Linked DNA regions of Homo sapiens: region 1 is linked to region 2. Evidence: promoter capture Hi-C in 16 types of primary human blood cells and fetal thymus (Javierre and others, 2016). All regions are on one chromosome and are shown on one strand. Each heading gives the region's core, a stretch centred on a gene start or on the middle of the fragment in contact. The rest is flanking DNA. Distances are from core to core; before and after follow the strand shown. Region 1 overlaps RFLNB (refilin B). Region 2 holds the start of VPS53 (VPS53 subunit of GARP complex).

Region 1 (4,968 bases), core at 442-2,941, 270 kb before region 2:
CCTCTGACCCACCCTGAAGGGTTCTGTTTCTCTCCACACACTTCCTTTTCTGCAACTTTCAGCAAAGCAGGTTTGGAAGAAAGAGGATTACAAAGAACTACGACTGGCTCCCTAGTGAATAACTTAACACGGTAAAACCCGGTTTTCCATTTACATTACACATTCACAATCGCTCACTGCTACTTACTTCACTGACGTATTTCACACTCTCTACACACCCAGCATGATTTGTCTGAACTTAACACAGTCCCCCTAAGACAAAAAAAAATATCTCCTAAGGACCTCTGAGAACACAGCGGTGTTCAAAGGCCACGTCCTCGCACACAACACCCAGACCTGCCACGCAGCCGGTACTGTTTCCTGAGCTCATCCGAGCAAGCGTCTCCACGGGGCAAAGCAAGGCCTTGAGGATCCCGCTAACATAACTTACAAATTATTGGGAGGCCGAGGCGGGTGGATCACAAGGTCAGGTGTTCGAGACCAGCCTGGCCAACATGGTGAAACCCCGTCTCTACTAAAAATACAAAAATTAGCTGGGCGTGGTGGTGGGCACCTGTAATCCCAGCTGCTCAGGAGGCTGAGGCAGGAGAGTCGCTTGAGCCTGGGAGGTGAAGGTTGCAGTGAGCTGAGTTGGCGCCATTCCACTCAGCCTGGGCAACAGAGCGAGACTCCATGTCAAAAAAAAAAAAAAAAAAGACATTGACCACTTAAACGACCACAGCATGAAATCAGACAGAAAAATCCATTTTTATCAATAAATGCTGCGTCACTTGCTCTTCCAAACACAGGAAGCATTTTTTGCTCTGCACGTGACTGAGGAGACTGTGGGTCCCAGGGTGGCCCCTCCCTGGGTCCCAGCCGAGCTTCAGCCCGGCAAGCTCAGACCACGGGTGGACTGCAGGCCCCGTCCACAGGGCGTCGATGCATTGGGGCACAGCGGACTGATGCTGTTGTCTGCAGAGGACAGCGTGGCTCTCCAGGACTCCAGCGACTGCGCACGACGGCGATTGTCGCTGCACCTGCTGCTGTGGCTCCGGGGCACCGCGGGGCTCAGTTCAGCTTTCGGCGCAGATGGAGGCCATCGGCAGAAACCCGGAGCTACAGCCGAGCTGAGCTTACAGTGCTCGGTAACCCTCAGGCACTGGAAATAATTTGGATGTGTTCAAGGGGAATATCTAGTTTGTTCTTTCCAATATTGGAAGAAAAAAGTAAAACCATCAGCCACTTTCTTTACTCAAACACCACAGGGATTGGCAGGAGGTCCCAAGAAGGGGTTAGGGGAGGACGGGGTGGCGGGAGGCAGGTCTGAAGCCACCGCACCCTGGTCCACCCCGCTGCTGGGCCACGCCAGCCGAATTCACACGGTCCTTGGGGACATTTCAGTTGACTGTCACCTGCCTCCGTACGGTGGTGTGAGAGGAATGCGCGCCACCACGGCGGCCAGGTTTTGACATCGTTCCCTACTCTGAATGCACCTTAGCTTGTCTGGTGTCGGGGGATGGGGGCACAGATTTCCTCAGCTTTGCCACTTTTTTTTAGAGATGGAGGCTCACTATGTTGCCAGACCGGTCTCGAATTCTTGGGCTCAAGAGATCCTCCTGCCTCAGTTTCCAAGTAGCTGAGACTACAGGCGCCAGCCACCGTGCCCAGCCTTCCTTGCTTTCTGAATTAGACCTAAGGCACTGGCAGAAACCCTCTGCAATTCTGACGCCATCGAGATCCTAAGACTGAGTCAACTCTAGCTCCTCTCATGATGAACCAGGTCATCGCCTGCGTCTGCCTCCTCCGGGTGGCCGCAGGTCTTAGGGCCACCGCTTCCTGTCCTGAGTGTCCACTCCCCACGTGGACTCCCAAAAAGTGTGTTTTCCAAGCACACTCTTAGAATGCTGTTTCTCTCAAAAAAAGGCCGTCCACTCCGTTTTGCCTTATGAAAAAATGGGAAAGTATTCTGAAAGTATTCCAAAAGCCCAAAACACCTATCGGAGACTCACGGAAGCCTGCGGAGACGGTCACCAGATACCAAGGGTTCGAGGCGTTTCTCAGAGCCTGTGCTTGGAACTGACCGTCAGGAAGCAATCGGAGCCGAAGCCGCTGCTCCCAAACCTGGCCGCCCATCGGCCTGGCCTTCCCGGAGCAGGTGGCAACACGGAGAACCTTTTTTTTTAAAAAAAAAAGGCATCTTAAATTGTGGTTTGGGATTTTCTTTTTTTTTTATATCATGAAAAAAGATTTAGAGAATTACAAGAGTTTAGGTTAATAGGAAACACAAATGGAGGTGGAAATTTAAAAACAAAGGAATGGAACTCAACTCTCCACAGATTGAACCCACACAGGTGTCACTGTTTACTGAATTAGCACCACTTTTGTGCAGTGAAGACACCCGTGGCTGAGATTTCTTAAATCTCACTTTTTCCATGCTTTTCTTCTGACAAACTGACCACGGAGGGAGAGCTCTCCTCCCCCCTCCCTATCCCAGACTGCTGCTGCTTTCCTGCAATTCTGGTGGTCTTTTTGTTGCCTCATCTGATTGAGACTTTGGGGAAACAACACAGCAGCAAACCAGGACATATATTCCCTCTAAAAACAGCTTGAAAATTACAACACAAAGATCTCAATAATTATGAGATGCAGTGATTTTTTCTTTTTTTTCTCTTCCCCCGGCCGCGCTTGGAGGTATCTCTAGGTTAGACTCCTCTGGGGCTGGAATGACGTGAAGGGTAAGGTCGCCCAGCTTGGCCAGGGCAGTCGGGGGCAGGACAGCGGGAGAGCCGGTCCGACCCCAGCCCAGCCTGCTGGGTCAGCATTCATCAGAGAGGTCGTCGCTGCCCGGGAGCTCCGCGGCTTCGAGCTCCACGCTGGACAGAAACCTCCTCAGCGTCTTGCGGCAGTTGTAATCCAGGGTGGTGGTGTAGACGGCCTTGGGGTACTTGGGGTACACGATGGTGGTACTGAGGAAGCGGGTGGGCCTGTGGCGTGGCTCGAAGCGCACCTCGGCCTTGTAGTTGCGCCACGTGCCATTGGGGACACAGGTGACCGTCTGGCTGCAGGAGGCCACCGCCAGGCCCAGGGGCAGCTGCACGTCGTCGATGAAGTGCCTCTCGGAGTCGTACTTGACCAAGGAGGTGTACCTGGGCGGGAGACATAAGAGGCCGCGTGAAGCCGCTCCTCTGAGCCGGGGGCTTGGGGTCCCCACTGTGACCGTGAGTCATTTGTGGGGTGCACATGTAGAAACGTGGCCGCCCCAGTGAGAAGCAGCATAGGGTCACAGAGTCTATAAAGTACTTACTATGTGCCAGGTACCCGTCGTCTAAGTACTTTACTTACGGGATCCAATTTAATCTCCCCAACGACCCTGAGAGAAGAAACCGAGGTGCAGAGGTGAAGGTCACAGCGCCACTGAGTACTGGAGCTGGGATTTAAATACAGGGGTGCAGGCTTCCAAAGCTGGCCCCACATCACTGTTAGCCACTGCGGGCAGCAGCCCTGGATCCTGCTCCCACTCGCACAAGCTTAAGACCTCAGCCAAGTTACTTCACTCTTCCGAGCCTCCGTTTCCTCTTTTTTTTTTTTTTTTTTTGAGATGGAGTCTCGCTCTGTCACCCAGGCTAGAGTGCAGTGGTGCAATCTCAGCTCACTGCAACCTCCGCCTCCCAGGTTAAAGTGATTCTCCTGCCTCAGCCTCCTGAGTAGCTGGGATTACAGGCGCCCGCCACCACGCCCTGCTAATTTTTGTATTTCTACTAGAGACGGGGTTTCACCATGTTGACCAGGCTGGTCTCAAACTCCCGACCTCAGGTGATCTGCCTGCCTTGGCCTCCCAAAACGCTGGGATTATAGACATGAACCACTGCACCTGGCCTCTTTTTTTGTGTTTTTTTTTTTTAAACAACATATCTTTTATTCTTTGTAGAGATGAGGACTTCCTGTGTCGCCCAGGCTGGTCCTAAACTCCTGGGCTCGAGCAATCCTCCTGCATCAGCCTCCCAGAGTGCTGGGATTACAGGCATGAGCCGCCGCACCCACCCTATCAGCTCTTTAATGAGAGGATAAAGGAACCCAGAAACCTTGAATGCTGGTTCTGAAAGTTTGGCTATACCAAATATTAATACTTTGTTCACCTTGGCATTTGGTTTGGGGACCCTCCCTAAACCTACATATCTGGGTATCTGACTTATCAATGAAAGCCAATTATCATCTTGATTTCCATAAGATAAATTAGCATCTGTGTTCCTCAGGCATTTAATTTTTTCAAGTCCTTCTTTTAATTTTGGGAGTCAGTTTTCTTTTCTTTTCTTTCTTTTTTTTTTTTTTGTTTTTCGGAAATGGAGTCTCGCTTTCTCGCCCACTCTGGAGTGGTGCAGTGGGGTGGTCTCAGCTCACCACAGCCTCCACCTCCTGGGCCCAAGCGATCCTCTCACCTCAGCCTCCTGCGTAGCTGGGACTACAGGCGTGCACCACCATTCCCAGGTAATTTTTGTATTTTTTGTAGAGACAGGGTTTCACTGTTGTTGCCCAGGCTGGTCTCGAACTCCTGCTTCAGTCTGCCAGAATGCTGGATTCTAGGCGTGAGCCACCGTGCCTGGCCCAAAAGTTACTTTTCTTACAGAAGCAAAGCTTTAATGCATTTTACTGAATGCTTATAGCTTTGTAGATACTGAAAAGAGTATGAGCGTCACATACAGACACATCTAACAGCACTGCCTCCAACCAGCCCCTACCCACTGGTCAGGTGAGTAAGAATCAGAATTCTTTTCTGTGAGTGGAACGGAAATTTCATCTCTCCTCCTCAGGCAAGTAGTTAAGAGGCTGGTGGGAGTCATGGCCCCATTTTGTTCAAAATACAAGCTCCACAGGAACAAAAGGCTGAACTGCTCACCTCCCAACTGATGAACCTCGTCTTTGTTCCATGTCAAAGGGGCCTTTGTGTTACTGCAGCAGAAACTCCAGCTATCAAACCATCAGGTACCA
Region 2 (5,123 bases), core at 2,624-5,123:
TTAATTAAAATAAGGCTGCGCGGATCGCTTGAGCTCAGGAGTTGGAGACTGGCCTGGGCAACATGGTGAAACCACATCTCTACAAAAAAAAATTAGCTGGGTGCCATGGCACATGCCTGTCATAGTCCCAGCTACGTGGGAGGCTGAGATGGGAGGATCACCAGAGCCCAGGAGGTTGAGGTTGCAGTGAGCCGAGATTCTATCACTGAACTCCAGCCTGGGCGACAGAGTGAGATCCTCTCTCAAAAACAGTCCACCTCTAAGACATACAGCTAACTCCCTAACAACCTGAAGAACACGCAACAAGGTGGATGATACAAGCAGCCAAATTATCCACTGGACACTGGGTCTCACCCAGCTTGATAGAGTTACAACTGTGGGAAGCAACTTCATCTCTGAAGAAGCCTTCCAAAGAAATATAGAGTCAAAAAATCAAAATATCTTCAAGACAACTGTTAGAAAAGCTGAAGCCTTCTACCACATCAAGAGGAGGTGGATGAGAAGAAAGTGAAGATGTTTTCTTTTTAAAATGTTCAGCATTGCTGTTTCCATAATGCACATATACACAGGTTATTTACACAGTCTCAATGATACGTGCTCACCAGAGGGAAAGTATAACCCACAGAGAGCAGGATACAAGAGATACAAACTATTTCCTCAAGTTGCTCTCAGTTTCTGTATTCCTCTCACGACTCCTAGGTTTTAGTGCTGTCCTAGGTTTTAAATTGTTTTCATGTAACAAGGCTCCTAACAAAAGCCAGCTGAAAAAAGAATGACTGGTTCCAATGATGGAGGAAAAAAACTAACAGCCCTAGACTTATCAGAGATGCATACGTGGTACTTCATGGGCAATTTTTTTTTTTTTTTTTGACACGGAGTCTCGCGCTGTCACCCAGGCTGGAGTGCAGTAGCGCGATCTTGGTTCACTACAAGCTCCACCTCCCAGGTTCATGCCATTCTCCTGTCTCAGCCTCTTGAGAAGGTGGGACTACAGGCGCTCGCCACCATACCCGGCTTATTTTTTGTGTTTTTAGTAGAGAAGGGGTTTCACCGTGTTGGCCAGGATGGTCTCAATCTCCTGAACTTGTGATCCACCCGCCTCGGCCTCCCAAAGTGCTGGGATTACAGGCGTGAGCCTCCACACCCGGCCTTCATGGGCAATTTAAAGAACTTCAGGGCAGAGTGATTTTCATGTCTAGAGTGACTTTCGCCTTTTTTTTTTTTTTTTTTTTCGAGATGGAGTCTCACTCTGTCGCTCAGGCTGGAAGGCAGTGGCACCATCTCAGCTCACTGCAACCTCTGCCTCCCGGGTTCAAGCAGTTCTTTGCCTCAACCTCCCGAGTAGCTGAGATTACGGGCACCTGCCACCATGCCCAGCTAAATTTTTGTATTTTTAGGAGAGACGGGGTTTCACCATGTTGGCCAGGCTGGTCTTGAACTCCTGACATCGTGATCCACCCGCCCTGGCCTCCCAAAGTGCTGGGATTACAGGTGTGAGCCACCGAGCCCAGCCAATTTTCACCTTATGCAATGACTCTGGGACTTCATCTTGGAGTAAAATGTGATTCCATTTTATCAACCCTTCCTGACTCCTCACACATCACTACTCTTTACAAGTATGCTACTACAGAATTTCATTCAGAGTGCTAAAGTAAGAAAAAATTCTGAATTCATCTTGACATAATGATGTCTGAATTCTGCTTGACATAAAGATGTCTGCTATACTATCACTCAAACTTATTCTTACAAAATAGGAAAAATGTCAGAATTCACCGCTATGTAATTCATCCATGTAATCAAAAACCACCTGTACCCCAAAAGCTGTTGAAACAAACAAAAGAAATAGCAAAAATGTGCTTTTCTGATACCTGTCAACCAAACAGTAACTGACTGCATTATTCTTTTCTTCCATGAGAGCCCACTAGTCCAAAGAGCAACAGAAATGTTATGTCTTTTTCTGGCAAAAGGAGGTAAGTGGTGGAGCCGTGTGGCCGGAACACTAAAAGCTTCCTGCCCAATGGTTTGGCGTTCTCAGGCTAGGACAAAGTTGGTTGTATAAGTAATCCAACCACTACTGGAAAAACACACATCGAAGCGTCAATGAATGCACCTGTAGTCCCAGCTACTCGGGAGGCTGAGGCAGGGTTATCACTTGAGCCCCAGGAGTTCGAGGCTGCAGTGAGCTACGATTATGCCACTGTACTCCAGCCTGGACAACAGAGCAAGACCCTATCTCAAAAAAAAAAAGTTTCCCAGGGGTCATTAAATAAGGCATAATGGAATTGTCCATTTCCTCAATCATAAATCCCTTTCTTAAATCATATAACTTCATGACAATTCCTTTAAGGGAGATTTTCTCCGTTTATCAGGAGCAATACCCTGCAGTATTAGAAATCACTATTTCTGACCGGGTGCAGTGGCTCACACCTGTAATCCCAGCACTTTGGGAGGCCGAGGCGGGCGGATAGCCTGAGGTCAGGAGTTCAAGACCAGCCTGGCCAACATGGTGAAACCCGGTCTCTACTAAAAATACAAAAATTAGCTAGGCATGGTAGCGGTTGCCTGTAGTCCCAGCTACTCAGGAGGCTGAGGCAGGAGAATCACTTGAACCTGGAAGCGGAGGTTGCAGTGAGCCGAGATGGCACCCCTACACTCCAACCTGGGCGAAAGAGCGAGACTCCGTCTCAGAAAACAAAAAAAAAGAAAAAAAGAAAAGAAAAAAATCACTATTTCTAATATCATTAGCCTTAAAAACTCAATAAACTTGCAAAGGCAAGAGTTCCTGCAGGCAGGGCCGCGCGTGGTGGCTCACGCCTGTAATCCCAGCACTTTGGGAGGCCAAGGCGGGCGGGTTACTTGAGCTCAGGAGTTCGAGACCATCCTGGCCAAAACGGTGAAACCCCCGTCTTTACCCCAAAAAAAAAAAAAAATTAGCCGGGTGTGGTGGCGTGCGCCTGTAATCACAGCTACTCAGGAGGCTGAGACAGGAGAATCGCTTGAACTCGGGAGGCGGAGGTCGCAGTGAGCCGAGATCGTGCCGTTGCACTCCAGCCCGGGCGACAGAGCGAGAATCCGTCTCAAAAAAAAAAAAAAAAAAAAGTTCCTGAAGGGAAAAGAGGCCCCTTGGGAGTATTCTCCAACCTCACCCAAACTATTCAACGGTAGGAATTCTCAACCTTTTAAGAATGGTAACGATGTCATTTTTCAACACTTTCTCTCTTCTCTGCCGTCCGCTTCAGAAATTAAAGTCATTCCCTTCCCCCAGTTCCAAGCCACTCACGAGGTGCCAGCTTGCAAAACCGGGGCGTTGGCACGAGTCTGGTAAATGCATGAAGCCCCCACAGTCCCCAGAATCTGAGGATGGCACCCAAGGCCTGCATTCTCCTAGCGTCGTCCTCTCTAAGCGCACAATTCCTTTCCCCAAAACCACCAGAACCCCCAGCCCTCGCCAAAGACAATCAAAGCCTAGAAAGGGTTCTCTTTCCTTTCCTTCTGATTCAGAAACCGCTTCTCACCCGCACCACCTCCCCACCTCCACTTTCCCTTCTGCCGCGAGCCCCCGGCCCTCCGTCCACCCGCCGCGGCCTCCCCAGCGCCCGGAGCTGCCGTCTCCCCTCCCGCACTCCCGTTTCCCCTCCTGAGGGGCGGAACGCTTACCTGCTCGATGGCCAGCTGCACCTCGGGCGTGAGCTGCAGCACGGCTTCCAGCTCCTCCACGAACTCCAGTTCCTCCTCCTCCATCATTCCGCCACCCGGCCCCCTGCCGACCCCCGCCGCGAGCCCAACTCAGGCCTCCAGCCGCCACCCAGGCCCCAGCACAGCAACTCCCTCGCGGCAGCGACCTGGTGAGCCCGGCTCCGTCAGCCGCTCTGTCAGCCGCTCCGGCACTTCCGGCAGGCCAGGGCACTTCCGGGACCGGGGAACTGTGGGATCACGGCGGACTGAGACTGGCGGCGTTCCTGTCACGTCAGGTGTCTCCCGGGCAACGCAGTATCCCGGCGGCCCCGCGTGGCCTCAGCGCGTCCTTAGGATGGGCGGGGCCTCTTCCCTCCCCAAGGCGCGCCCCGCACTGAGGACCCCGAGGTTGGGGTAGGGTCTGGCCTCCAGCAGGACGCCCGGATGAAAGTCAGCCCTGCGGCGTCGCCAACCGCAGCCCACAGCCTCCGCGGGCAGCGCAGCGGCGACCTCTCAGCTCCCGGGGCCCCCTCGGTCAGTGGCAGCGGGTGTCCCCGGCCACGGGGGCGACGTGATCCCAGCTGGCGAGTGGCGATGTCGCCAAGGACATTCGTAGGACGGGACAGTGCCCACTCGATAGAAATTCCCCGTGCGCCGGGCTCTGCGCAGAAGCTTTTCGAGGTGACTGCAGCCTCCTTATGGGGAGAAACGTCTTTTTTTTTTTTTTTTTTTTTTTTGAGACGGAGTCTTACTTGTTGCCCAGGCTGGAGTGCAACGGCGCGATCTCGGCTCACTGCAACCCCGCCTGCTGGGTTCAAGCGATTCTCCTGTCTCAGCCTCCCGAGTAGCTGGGATTACAGGCGCCCGCCACCACGCCCAGCTAATTTTTGTATTTTTAGTGGAGACGAGGTTTCACCATGTTGGCCAGGCTGGTCTCGAACTCTTGACCTCGTGATCCGCCCGCCTCGGCCTCCCAAAGTGCTGGGATGACAGGCGTGAGCTACTGCGCCCGGCCAGAAACGTTTTTTTAAAGCCAGATGACGCAGCGCCCTGGAGCTGGGGAGACGTTTACTGAGGTTGAATATCCGGGATCTAAGTCCTGAATAGTCCACCATTGATAAGTTGTGTGACTTGGAACAAATTACTACCCCGCGTCGATGTGGAGAGGATTAAACATTAACAGCGCGATGTAAATTCAAGCTGGTAATACAGGAAATAGTGAGGTGCCCAGCCCTTACCCCCACAAAGGAACAAATAAGCCAGATCACCGATCACCCTGTGAAACCACCTTTCCTGCAGACACTGAAAAGAAGGAGGGAATTGCAGCCCAAGGAGGACCCGCTCCACCAGGTGAACCGGGAAACTCCAGGAGGGAAACGCGTTGGCCCCACTGAACTTTTTTTTGTTGTTGTTATCAGAGTTGCTCAAAGTAAAAAATAGGAGCAGTA

Evidence for each region. Contacts are between HindIII fragments. The CHiCAGO score rates a contact against its expected background, and 5 or more counts as called.
Region 1: a fragment that was not itself captured here is called in contact with the fragment with the promoter of VPS53 in region 2 in 6 of 17 cell types (M0 macrophages, monocytes, endothelial precursors and 3 more); the score reaches 9.8 in M0 macrophages.

What each region holds. Positions count from the first base shown.
Region 1 is chr17:440,367-445,334 of GRCh38, forward strand. It overlaps RFLNB (refilin B), which reads right to left. Exons shown (of 2, transcript NM_182705.3): 2 at 1-3,128. The coding sequence ends at 2,798. Among named protein-coding and RNA genes, the nearest start is that of RFLNB, 3.1 kb to the right of the region's middle. The HindIII fragment of the contact is 3,632 bases long and covers 1-3,507 here.
Region 2 is chr17:710,966-716,088 of GRCh38, forward strand. It overlaps VPS53 (VPS53 subunit of GARP complex), which reads right to left and starts at 3,874. Exons shown (of 22, transcript NM_001128159.3): 1 at 3,658-3,874. The coding sequence starts at 3,744. RefSeq lists an enhancer at 4,346-4,415. The HindIII fragment of the contact is 2,341 bases long and covers 2,005-4,345 here.